Linked DNA regions of Homo sapiens: all the other regions are linked to region 2. Evidence: promoter capture Hi-C in 16 types of primary human blood cells and fetal thymus (Javierre and others, 2016). All regions are on one chromosome and are shown on one strand. The core of a region is centred on a gene start or on the middle of the fragment in contact, and the rest is flanking DNA. Distances in the headings are between cores, read along the strand shown.

Region 1 (3,495 bases), core at 926-3,425, 360 kb before region 2:
TAATTTTTGTGGGTACATAGTAGATATATATATATATATATATATATATTTATGAGGTACATGAGGTACAAGCATTCAAAGTGTAATAATCACATCATCAAGAATGGGGCATCCATCCCCTCAAGCATTTATCTTTTGTGTTACAAACAATCCAATTATATTCTTTTAGTTATTTTTAAGTGTACAATTACATTATTATCACTATAGTCACCCTGTTGTGCCATCAAATACTGAGTCTTATTCATTCTTTCTATTATTTTTGTACCCAAAGGGTTAATTTTAGTTTTACTCCTGATGAGTAGGGTGTAGGTGGTCATAACAGAGGCTAAGCTTGGCTCCCTGATGAGAAATTTATGTGCCAATGGAAGCACAGTTTCCTTTGTGAATAGTCACAACTGGTCATTTATTAACGACAATAACCTCTTGGGTAAATAACATAAAACAACCGCCAAATGCTATCATATTGGTCTGCAGTCTTAGCAGAGGATAATTTATTAACTTGCTAATTATACTCCTTTGTACCTCCCTTTTCTTTTTAGCACAGATGTTATACTGCCAGAGTGAAAGTTTCAGTGTTAAGTATGGTACTTGATTTTACTCAGACTTAGAAGTAAGTGGAACATTTGCCAATTCATTCAATTATGTTTCCTTTTTATTTGGCTTACTTTAAAAAACCAGATTGCCCCTCTCCCTGGAGATTAAGTTGGTAGCAAAATTAATAACGGCAAGACTGTTTTCCCTTTCCCAAGTTAAAAGAGCCGCATGGCTATTCTCAGACAAATCCCAGAATTGTGAGACCTAAAGCTTATATAAGAAGGGGGCGGGCCTCTTTAATAAAAAGAAAAGAGAATCTCTTACTTTCTCAAGATTGACAGTGCTAGGGCCTCTCCAAAGCCCTTGAAAGTGGCCCTGATAAATCTAGTTCGAGTTTTCCTAATGTTGGTCTACACCACCAAGTTGTTCCTTAAGCATTTAAATATGTGTAGCCTAATATAAGGCAAGTTAAATAAGTTTTTTAATAATTCTTGTTTTATAGTAATGTACATCCAAAATAATAAAATGTAGCATAAAAGTTTAGGTTTAACTATAGTTTATAAGTTATAAATTGATGCTGTACTGCCATCTATTGTCTATCCAAAGAATTATTACTGTGTTCAACTGAGCCTCAGAGTTGTGATTTCAAAGTTACCAAAAAGTGCTTCCACCTGCATTGAATTGAATTATTTCCTCAAGGGAACCTAAGACACCAGATACTAGAACCACTCTTCTGAATTAAGGCATTGGTTGTAACATGCATAAGTTTTCTGGCCACAAAGGAAGGAGAAAACTTAATTCACTAACAAATGGCACTAATAGTGTGCATGGTGTTTCTTTACTGCAACTGCTAAATGGTAGAGAGCAACCATTTACTGAGCAACCTCTTTCCTGCTAACATTAGACCCTGTATTAGATTACGGACACATACCATCAGATAATGCTAGACCTGAAAAAGTCCCTGGTGATTACCTGGTTCAGTCACTTTATTGCAGATTTGAAGAGACATTGTTCCTCAGAAACCATGTGACTGACTGACAGTGTTGTGCCTGCTGGTTACCCATGTACATGGTACTGGAAGCCCAGGCTCACAAAGAGGCATCTAATGACAGTGTGAGGATAGAGCCATGTAAATCTCTCCCATCTCCAGAAATAAAACAAAACCCCACAATCTATTTCCCTTGGAAAACCTAGAATTTTGGATTTACAGAATGGGTTTTTCCTTCAGAAGCAGTGTTGTCTTCAAATTTGTATTTTTTCTCAGCTGAATAAAGGATCAAATATAGCAATGTATACACACAGATTTCAGAGTCATACCAGCCTGGCCATTAGCTATATGATCTTGAGCTAGTTACTTCTTTAAGCCTCAGTTTCTTCATCTGCAAAATGGGAGTGATAAATTGTTAAGAGAATTAAATTAGGTAAAACTTGTAAAATGCTTAGCCTAGTACTGCCATATAGTAGGTTCTCAATAAGTATCAGCTATTGTAATTATGCATATGAATGTCAGTTGACATGTCCTGAATAATAATTTATAAGGAATTATATAGATGGTACTTTGAGCTAGCATATTTATCAGGCTCAGATATGAAAGGAGAATGTCTGGGTTGGAAGATCCCTTAGAGATAATCTAGTGACCCAACCATACCATTTTTCAGATGAGTTCATTGAGGCCCAGAGATATTCATTGTTCAAAGTCACACGGCTAATGACAGAGTTAGGAGTAGAGAACCCACCCAACTCCTCACTCAGAGACTAATTTTAAATTCTCAGTAGATGAGTTTCACGATCACAAAATTCCAAGTTGGATGGGGAAATGAAAATAATTTGCTATGCTCATTCGAGTTTTTAAAATACAAAGCATCCTCAAAGTTACAGGTATGTAAAGGATGCTACACCACTAACCCAAGTATTTCTTGTTGCCAATGGTAATAGAATGCAGAAACTCTGCCATCTAGTGGTTGCACAAGAATATCACTCCTCTACTCATCCTTTTTTGTCCAGTCAGCCTCTACTTCCTGATTGCATTCACCTTCCTGGGCACTTTGATGGTTTTTGTTTGTCTGTTTGTTTGTTTGTTTTGTTGGTTTTTGTAAAGACGGGGTCTCACTATGTTGCCTAAGCTGGTTTTGAACTCCTGGTCTCAAATGATTGTCTTGCCTCAGCCTCCCAAAGTGCCAGGATTACAGGTGTGAGCCACCAAGTCTTTCAAAATGGCAGCCTGAAGGCTGGGAGCCATCTCCCAATATGCTGTGTGGTGCAGAAATGTTTAAGTTCCCCCTCACACCTGACCAGTGGAATGCAAATCATCTCTCCAACAAAGGCTGGAAATGTTTGCCTTAATACTTCTATCTTGTGAAATCGAGGCTTTGGGTGCTACCGAGTCTGTGAAAGTTAAGCAAAATATCTCAGGACCACTAGTATGTTGATTTTGATGATTTCGGATCACTCCACATGATTAACGAACCATGAAACTCGCCCAGAACCAGGCTAGGTTCCACAAGGTTTGGCTTTATTAGCATTGGTCCCAGAGGAAGAAATGATTTCATTCTGGGCACAAGCAAAGAGAAGCCAAGGCCGAGGACCAAACAACCAGGAGAATTGTGCAAATCCCCAGGAGAACTGAGGAACCGAGGTCTGTGCCTCAAGGAACGGCTCGGTTTTATCAAGAGTATTGTGTTTCACGCGTGATTGCACATGCTCTGATTTAGAGAAGCTGAAGGTCATGGCATTTTTTTCAGCTTCTCTTTATAAGAGTCAAGTTGGACAAGTTTTGTTTTCAGTTGTCGAAATACAAAAGAAGATTTTTTTGATTGCTGGAATTTTCCTTTTAAGGCAATTCAAATTCTTATCATCTAATGGCAGAGAAGAGAAAATGTAGCTTTTATTTTGACAGTGTCAATACTCCCCAAAGAAAGACTAATGATCTTACTAAGCTCATGAATAACAAATTAATAATGC
Region 2 (3,491 bases), core at 361-2,860:
AAAAAAAAGAATCACCTCTGAACAATCCCTGGCTTTACCTCTCATGGCAGAAAAATGTTCTGGGCACACAGTCCAGTGTCCCAGAATGCCTGGGGTCATGGCCGCCAGACCCTCGGCACTGTGGAAAAGCTGCCTCAGAAAAGTGTCACAAACAAGGAGAGGAAGAGGAAGGAGCTCTGTCTGCCTCTGAATGAAGCTAAAAATGGAAAGCGCGTGTGGTGCAGGAGCGGAACCCAGCCTGCCTTTTCCAAATGGGGAAGACCGAACTTTCCCACCAGCTCCCAACGCAAAACAACTTTCAAAACAACTGCCTCCTCCCTCTGCTGCGAGCTCTCTTTCATCCTCTCACATGGAAGACTGAAAAGGGTTGCATCCTGCCAGCATCACTGAGCTACGGCCTCTTAGAAATCACTTGGACCACAGGAAAAGAGGAGGAAAAATGGGTGAAGGGGAAAACAGCCTGCAGTGTCTTCTGACTTGCAAGCATCTCATACCAAATTGAAAAGGCAAAAACAAAACATAAAACCGTTTAATAAAATTCCCTGGAGAGAATTCCTTTAGGAGTCCTCAGCTACAAATAGCACTTTCCATTTAAATCTGAAAGTGTATGAATTCCCAGAAGTCACTGATGTACTACAGTTTACTGTAACTAAAGTTATAACAAATTTAGAAGACTTGGAGGACAAGCTCTGCTTCCACTTGTACATTGATGAGGATATTCCCCCAAAATCCTCCCTCACACTCAGAAAAAAACTGTTTTCCAAAGGCAAAAAAAGGTAAACAACTTCTGTAAGGGTTTTCTCATATAGACATGTTTGATAAAAATGAGGAATATGGGTATCATTTCCATGTAAGAATGTGTGTTTGTTCAAATGTAAACATAACATTCTGTGGAAGTCCTTCAAGGAGGTTTTTACATTCTTCCACTTCTCTAAATAGGATGCTCTTAAAAAAAAAAAAGTTGGATGCAAAGTTGTTTTTCCCTCAGTTATGATTTAAGCAAACCTGCTTATTTTTATTTAGTTCCAACATGTAGAGTCATGACGCCAAACACATGTTAAAAATAAAATAAAATAGAAAACTTCAGCCAACCCGGAATAGTTTGACGAGTGTGAGCTGGAACCACTACTGAAATTTCAATGAATTGGCAATTATGTCTAGAACTGAAAGGGTTAATGATTCATAAGGAAAGTCTCACAAATGTTTGACAGCACTAAGTGCACTAAAGCAGAAGCATGTTTCTACTGCGACATTAGCCAAAAAAAATTAATAATAATAACAATAAAGGAAAAGAAAATAAAGTTTTCAGATCAATTTCAGAATTAAAAAAAAAAAATTCAAGTTCCTTACCAAGGTCGTACCCACACGTTTTTCCAAGCAAATATCCAACATCTGAGAAAAGTCTCGTTCATCTCTACCCAGTCCACATTCTCCCCGCGTCCCCCGCCAGGCTGAGCCGCACAGACGCGCACCTCGGCGGTCCCTCCTCGCTTCGTCCGGCCGCCCGGGCGCCCGCGTCCCAGCTCCGGGCGGACAGGTGCCGCGGTCGCTGCTCTTGCCTCTCCGCAACACTGGAGGGCCGAGTGTCACGGCAGCACTTTGTCTGTGTTAACCGTCTGGCTTCCCCTCCCTGCTTAAGATTTCCTTAGCCACTCGGCTGCGCGAAGTGGGGGCGTGGCCAACGTGGCCAACACCACCTGGCCGAGCCCAGGGCTTTCCCCCAGATTGCTAGCACAGCCGCCGAGAGCTTCCTCTCTTCGCATGTGTATTTCAACATTGACTTGGAATCTTCTTACTTCCCTTTGAAGGCACTTAACCTCAACGCTTACTTGGGCTCTATTGTATTCTAAACACTCCAGATCGCCCTCCTTCCTGGCGCGGCAGAATTAGGGGGCGCACGTTCCTTAAATTAAGGAAACTTAAAATTTACCTACACAGTTTCTGATTTCTCAGCTCAAATCCCCAGGTACAAAAGACACAAATCTTACTTCAAAAGAGCAAGTTAAATTGTTTTTGCAGCTAGTGTAATACAGTGGAGCTGTCTGGTCCTCAAGCTGTTGTGTATGTAACGCACGTTTCCCCGCCCCCCGCCCCAAAAGTTGTAACATTCCGTTTCTCCTGCTAACGTTCAAACTTGGCAGAACTAACTTTCCTCTTTTAACTATTTAGTAAATAGGGAAATAGGCAAAAGTTATAATTCTACAGATTGTTTGTTTTCCTTTCCTCTCCTCCCAGAACCCACAGGCTGACTTCCCAGGAGTGTAAGTAAAATGTAGAGCATTAGTCGTTTCACAGTTCAGAGGAATATTGAACTGATCACTGCAAGTGGAAAGCGGTCGGAGGCAGTAATTAGTGGGGCTTATTCTGAGCCCCGGCCAGCTTTTCCTCCAGCCCAGTCAGTCCTCTGTTGAAGGAAGGACATCCTGTGATGATGGCATACAATGTCCTGTTTGTTTATTATTAAGAGCGTGGACCTTGCATTCCTGCTTCTCATTACAAAACAAACCAGATGCTTTACTTCCTTCAATGGTCTTGTGCCTTCAGCAAGGAATCCTTTAATTCAGAGAAACAATGTTTATAGCAAACACCCCATTTCAATTATTATTTAGATCATTGAAATCCAGGTCTTCCATTTTTCCTGCTTGCCTTACCATAGGTAGGTTTTTTTAAAATCATTTCTCCTTCGACCTGCAATGTCTTTTCTAACATTTTAAATACACGTGTGCACACACATCCACCCACACACACACCCACATACACACACCCAGTTCCAACCTAATGATACCAACTTAGTCATACAATGAAATGGACATCTGAGTATTTGTTTACAGGAAGAAATGAAACAAAGCAAAACAAAAGCCCAACTCAATCCTAAAAAATATGTCTGTTTATCTTTAAAATTTCTTTTCTCACTTTTAGAAAACTTTTCTAGAATTTTTTTTAGGGGAGAGGGGGAGAGGCAAAAGATTATTTGCCAGGAAATGGTGTCTAAAGTCTTGCTGCAATCTCTCTCTCAGTACAGAACAATTAAATTCCCACTAGGGGACATGATTAGCACACACTCGCTGCTTGCTGCGTGGCCCACCTGTGATTGCATGTTATGCCAGAGGGGACGCTAGCACCAAGAGGAAGCAGGACTTTTAGAAGGCAGATCTGCTGGGGGTGGAAAACTGAATGAACAATTCCTAAGAGTCCTCAGAAAGCTCCAAGCTGATAATTAAACAAGAGAAATCCAGCCTGCTCAAGAGGGTTTATTAACTGATGCTGAGTCAGCACCACAATGGACAGAAAAACAATGTAGTCATACTGAAGGCTGGCCTGCTGTTCAAACAGTCTCACTTGCAGATGTTAAAGAGTATTTCACTTCCCTTTTAGAATCAAACTCTGTTCTTAGGCCACATACACCATCATGCAACTGCTGGTGAGTCAACCATGATAGAGTAAGGGAATAGGCAAAAAGTTTGATATTTGAGGTGGGAAGAAGGCTATTT
Region 3 (3,610 bases), core at 750-3,249, 330 kb after region 2:
CAGTCTATGAGAAAATTAGTATTTGTTGCTTTCCCTGGCTTTCTTGGATTAGCATTTGCAGGCCTTTCCAGGCTTAAGGAAACTTGGCAGGAATGTTTGGCAGCTTCCTAAGCTTACTAGAAATACCAGAAGCCCACAGTCTGCATAATGCTAATTAAGTTTTCAGCTCGGTCTCCAAGTTCTTATAGTGTTTAGAGGATCGAGTAACTTAGGAAGTGTCCCATATAGAAATTGACCAGAGAAGACAAGAATCCCCATCCACCAATAAAACAATAAAACTCTGGCAGGCGTGCCCTACATCTGCAAAGGAGAAGGGGTCTTTTTTATTTCTTTACTTATCTTCCCTTGCAGTGAAAATCCTGCCAGCATCACATCATTTTCCGGTATCACCTCCTGTGGTGCCTGTATTGATTTTTCTGCCTCGCCTTTGGAAGTGTTTGGTTTGTGCTCAGCCATCACACTCAATGGGTGTGGTTCTCTTGTGTTCTGCCATGCCTCAGGGGTGTGGTGAGGTAGGGTGCCTGTGCCAAGTGGCTTCACCCGCCCAAGGTGTGGTGATATCGCCTATTCTTACCACATCTCGGAGTATTTTATTGGTATCTTACTATAAGTCATCCGAAATGAAAACGTTTCATCTTGTGCTTCATACCTGCCTTTGACAAACTTCCAAATATTGGTTATTGTTGTGGGGCTCCTATTATGCATCAAGAATCAGGCTTTTCATTTTCAAGTTTTTATACTACTTACTACAATATCATGTAAGAAAAGAAAATGCCAAGAGAGGAGACCAAAGTGCAACAGAAGCACTGACCTTGCTTACCTTTACTTGAGAAATTCATCTATTTAGAGAGGGTTCAAGTTAGGAAATGGTCAATGTGCACTAAAACTTTGTGCTTAAGAATATCTGTTAGTAATTAATTATTCTGTAATTTGTCAGTTTTGAAGCAGGTACTGATTCCTGGTGTCCAGCCATGGCTAGAGTGTTAGGCACCAGTTCCCTTCTTTGAGCTCTAGAATTTCAGCGCCTACATGGATGGCAGCCACTGCTGCTTCAGTGTGCTTAGGCCTTGGCAAAAGGCTCGGGTCAGAGAGGTAGGTGGATGGGCCCAGCCTAACCCCTAAAGGAGTTCCAGGGAGCAGCCTGGCCTGTGCGTCGGGAAACAGCCTTGGAGTGTGCCTACTGTAATGTAAGAGTTAACTAGTTTTCAAAGGAGAGAAAACACAACAATAAAAGGATGTCACCAGTTCCTTTCTTGGAGTGGTTTTGGTTTTGTAGCTGAAAAGTCAAAACTAATGTGAGAATTCATCAAGGGTTAAGTGGTCAGTTACATGTCATGGATTATGAATTCAACAGGAAAAGAGAAGCCAATGTCAGGATGAGCTGGAATAGCTGGAGGAGGCTTCATGGAGGATGGCAGGCTGGAATTAGGCCAGAATGATGGGTACAGTTTGAGAAGACCCCATATGAGGGTGTTTAAATATTTGATTTGTTCCCATGTTTATTGCAGCACTGTTCACAATAGTCAAGATTTATTTATTTATTTATTTATTTATTTTTGAGATGGAGTCTCGCTCTGTTGCCCAGGCTAGAATGCAGTGGTGTAACCTCTGTTACACCAGTTGCCCAACCTGAAATGCAGCTCACTGTAACCTCCACCTCCCCGGATTCAAGCAATTCTCCTGCCTCAGCCTCCTGAGTAGCTGGGAGTACAGGCGCGCACCACCATGCCCAGCTAATTTTTGTATTTTTAGTAGAGACAGGGTTTCACCATGTTGGCCAGGATGGTCGCGATCTGTTGACCTCGTGATCCACGCACCTCGGCCTCCCAAAGTGCTGGGATTACAGGCGTGAGCCACCGCACCCAGCTAATAGCCAAGATTTAGAAACAACTCAAGTGTCCATCAACAGACAAATGGATAAAGGAAGTGTGGTGCAGACACACAATGGAGTACTACTCAACCATAAAAAGGAATGAGATTCTGTCATTTGCAACAACATGGATGGAGCTGGAAATCATTATGTTAAGTGAAATAATCCAAGCACAGAAAGACAAACTTTGCATATACTTATTTGTAGGAGCTAAAAATTAAAACTGTTGAAATCATGGAGATAAAGAATAGAAGGATGGTTACCAGAGGATAGTGGGGAGGGGTGGCAGGGAAGCGGGGATGGTTAGTGGATACAAAAAAATGGTTTAAAAGAATGAATAAGATCTAGTAATTGATAGCACAATAGGGTGACTATAGTCAGTAATAATTTAATTGTACATTTAAAAATAACTAAGAGTATAATTGGATTGTTTGTGACACAAAGGATAAATGCTTAAGGTGATGGATACCTCATTTACCCCAAAGTGATTATTACACATTGTATGCCTGTATCAAAATATCCCATATACCCCATAAATACATACACCTACTATGTACTTGCAAAAATCAAAAATTAAAAAAGGATTCAATTTGCATACACAATGTTTGCTACAACAAACATTGCTTTGGATGTCGGGAGATACTGTAGAATAAAGAAGTAAGGTGTCTTGCCTTCCTACATTCAAGCTCTTTCCTGAGCTTCTTGTGAGAAGTTATTTACAGAGCACAAACTCGATTTAGGAGTAAAGTACATGCACCATATGAATAAGAGAACATTTATAAATTATTGCAGGGAGGTGGGGTTGCTGGAAACTAATATAAAGAAATTATCTCAGTTAAATGGGAGAAATCTGATGAGGATCAATTTTTTTCTCAGTTAAAGAATCCTTTCTTACAGGAATTGGCAAACTGCAGTTCTAGGACCCAATCAAGCCCTTTGATCATTTTATACAGTGTGCAAGCTAAGAATGGTTTCGATAGTTTTACATGGTTTAGAAAAACCAAAAGAATATTTCATCACAAGTGAAATAATATAAAATTCAAGTGTCAATATTCATAAGTAAAGTTTTGTTGGAACACCGCCACACCCATTTGTTTATGGATTGTCCACAATGGGCAGGCTAAGTAATTGCAACAGAAGGCATATGTGACACTCTCATCATTTTGCATCTGAAAACTGCAGTGACATGGTTAAACATCAACAGTGTTTTGGTGTCCCCCCCAAAGATGTGTAAGTCCTAACGCATGGTACCTGTGAACATGACCTTATTGGAAATATTATCTTTACAGAGGTGATCCAATTAAAATGAGGTTATTAGGGTGGGTTGTAATCCAGTATGACCTGTGTCCTTGTAAGAAGGGGAAATTTGGAGACAGACGCATAGGGAATATGATGTGAAGACACAGGGAAAAGGCCACCTAAAGCCAAGGAACACCGGAAGCCTCCAGAAATCAGAAGGGAAGCATGGGCTGGATCTTTCCTCACAGCCTGCAGAAAGAATCAATCCTGCTGATGCCTTCATTTTGGACTTCCAACCAAAGTCCAGAACCATGAGATGATAAATGTTTGTTGTTTAAGCCCCACAGTTTGCAGCTCTTTGTTATAGCAGCCCCAGGGACTCGTGCTCTTGCAGCCTCCCTGTCACTGGGAGACACCATGTGACAGTAAAACAAAGAGCTCAGCTTTGAAGACCAGAGCAGGTTCCTCCCCTGGGCTGGGTAGTCCTGACTCAGTGGGCAA

The links. The method cuts DNA at HindIII sites, captures the fragments that hold promoters and counts their contacts. A CHiCAGO score of 5 or more calls a contact.
Region 1: a fragment that was not itself captured here is called in contact with the fragment with the promoter of PRDM1 in region 2 in 3 of 17 cell types (activated CD4 T cells, non-activated CD4 T cells and M0 macrophages); the score reaches 6.1 in activated CD4 T cells.
Region 3: a fragment that was not itself captured here is called in contact with the fragment with the promoter of PRDM1 in region 2 in 14 of 17 cell types (M2 macrophages, activated CD4 T cells, monocytes and 11 more); the score reaches 18.5 in M2 macrophages.

What each region holds. Positions count from the first base shown.
Region 1 is chr6:106,444,102-106,447,596 of GRCh38, reverse strand. All of the region lies in intron 1 of CRYBG1 (crystallin beta-gamma domain containing 1), which reads right to left. Among named protein-coding and RNA genes, the nearest start is that of CRYBG1, 85 kb to the right of the region's middle. The HindIII fragment of the contact is 2,737 bases long and covers 807-3,495 here.
Region 2 is chr6:106,084,455-106,087,945 of GRCh38, reverse strand. PRDM1 (PR/SET domain 1) reads right to left here and starts at 1,610. Exons shown (of 7, transcript NM_001198.4): 1 at 1,351-1,610. The coding sequence starts at 1,392. RefSeq lists enhancers at 1,263-1,982, 3,160-3,229. The HindIII fragment of the contact is 5,820 bases long and covers 1-3,491 here.
Region 3 is chr6:105,750,264-105,753,873 of GRCh38, reverse strand. No RefSeq gene overlaps it. Among named protein-coding and RNA genes, the nearest start is that of LINC02836, 120 kb to the right of the region's middle. The HindIII fragment of the contact is 3,770 bases long and covers 115-3,610 here.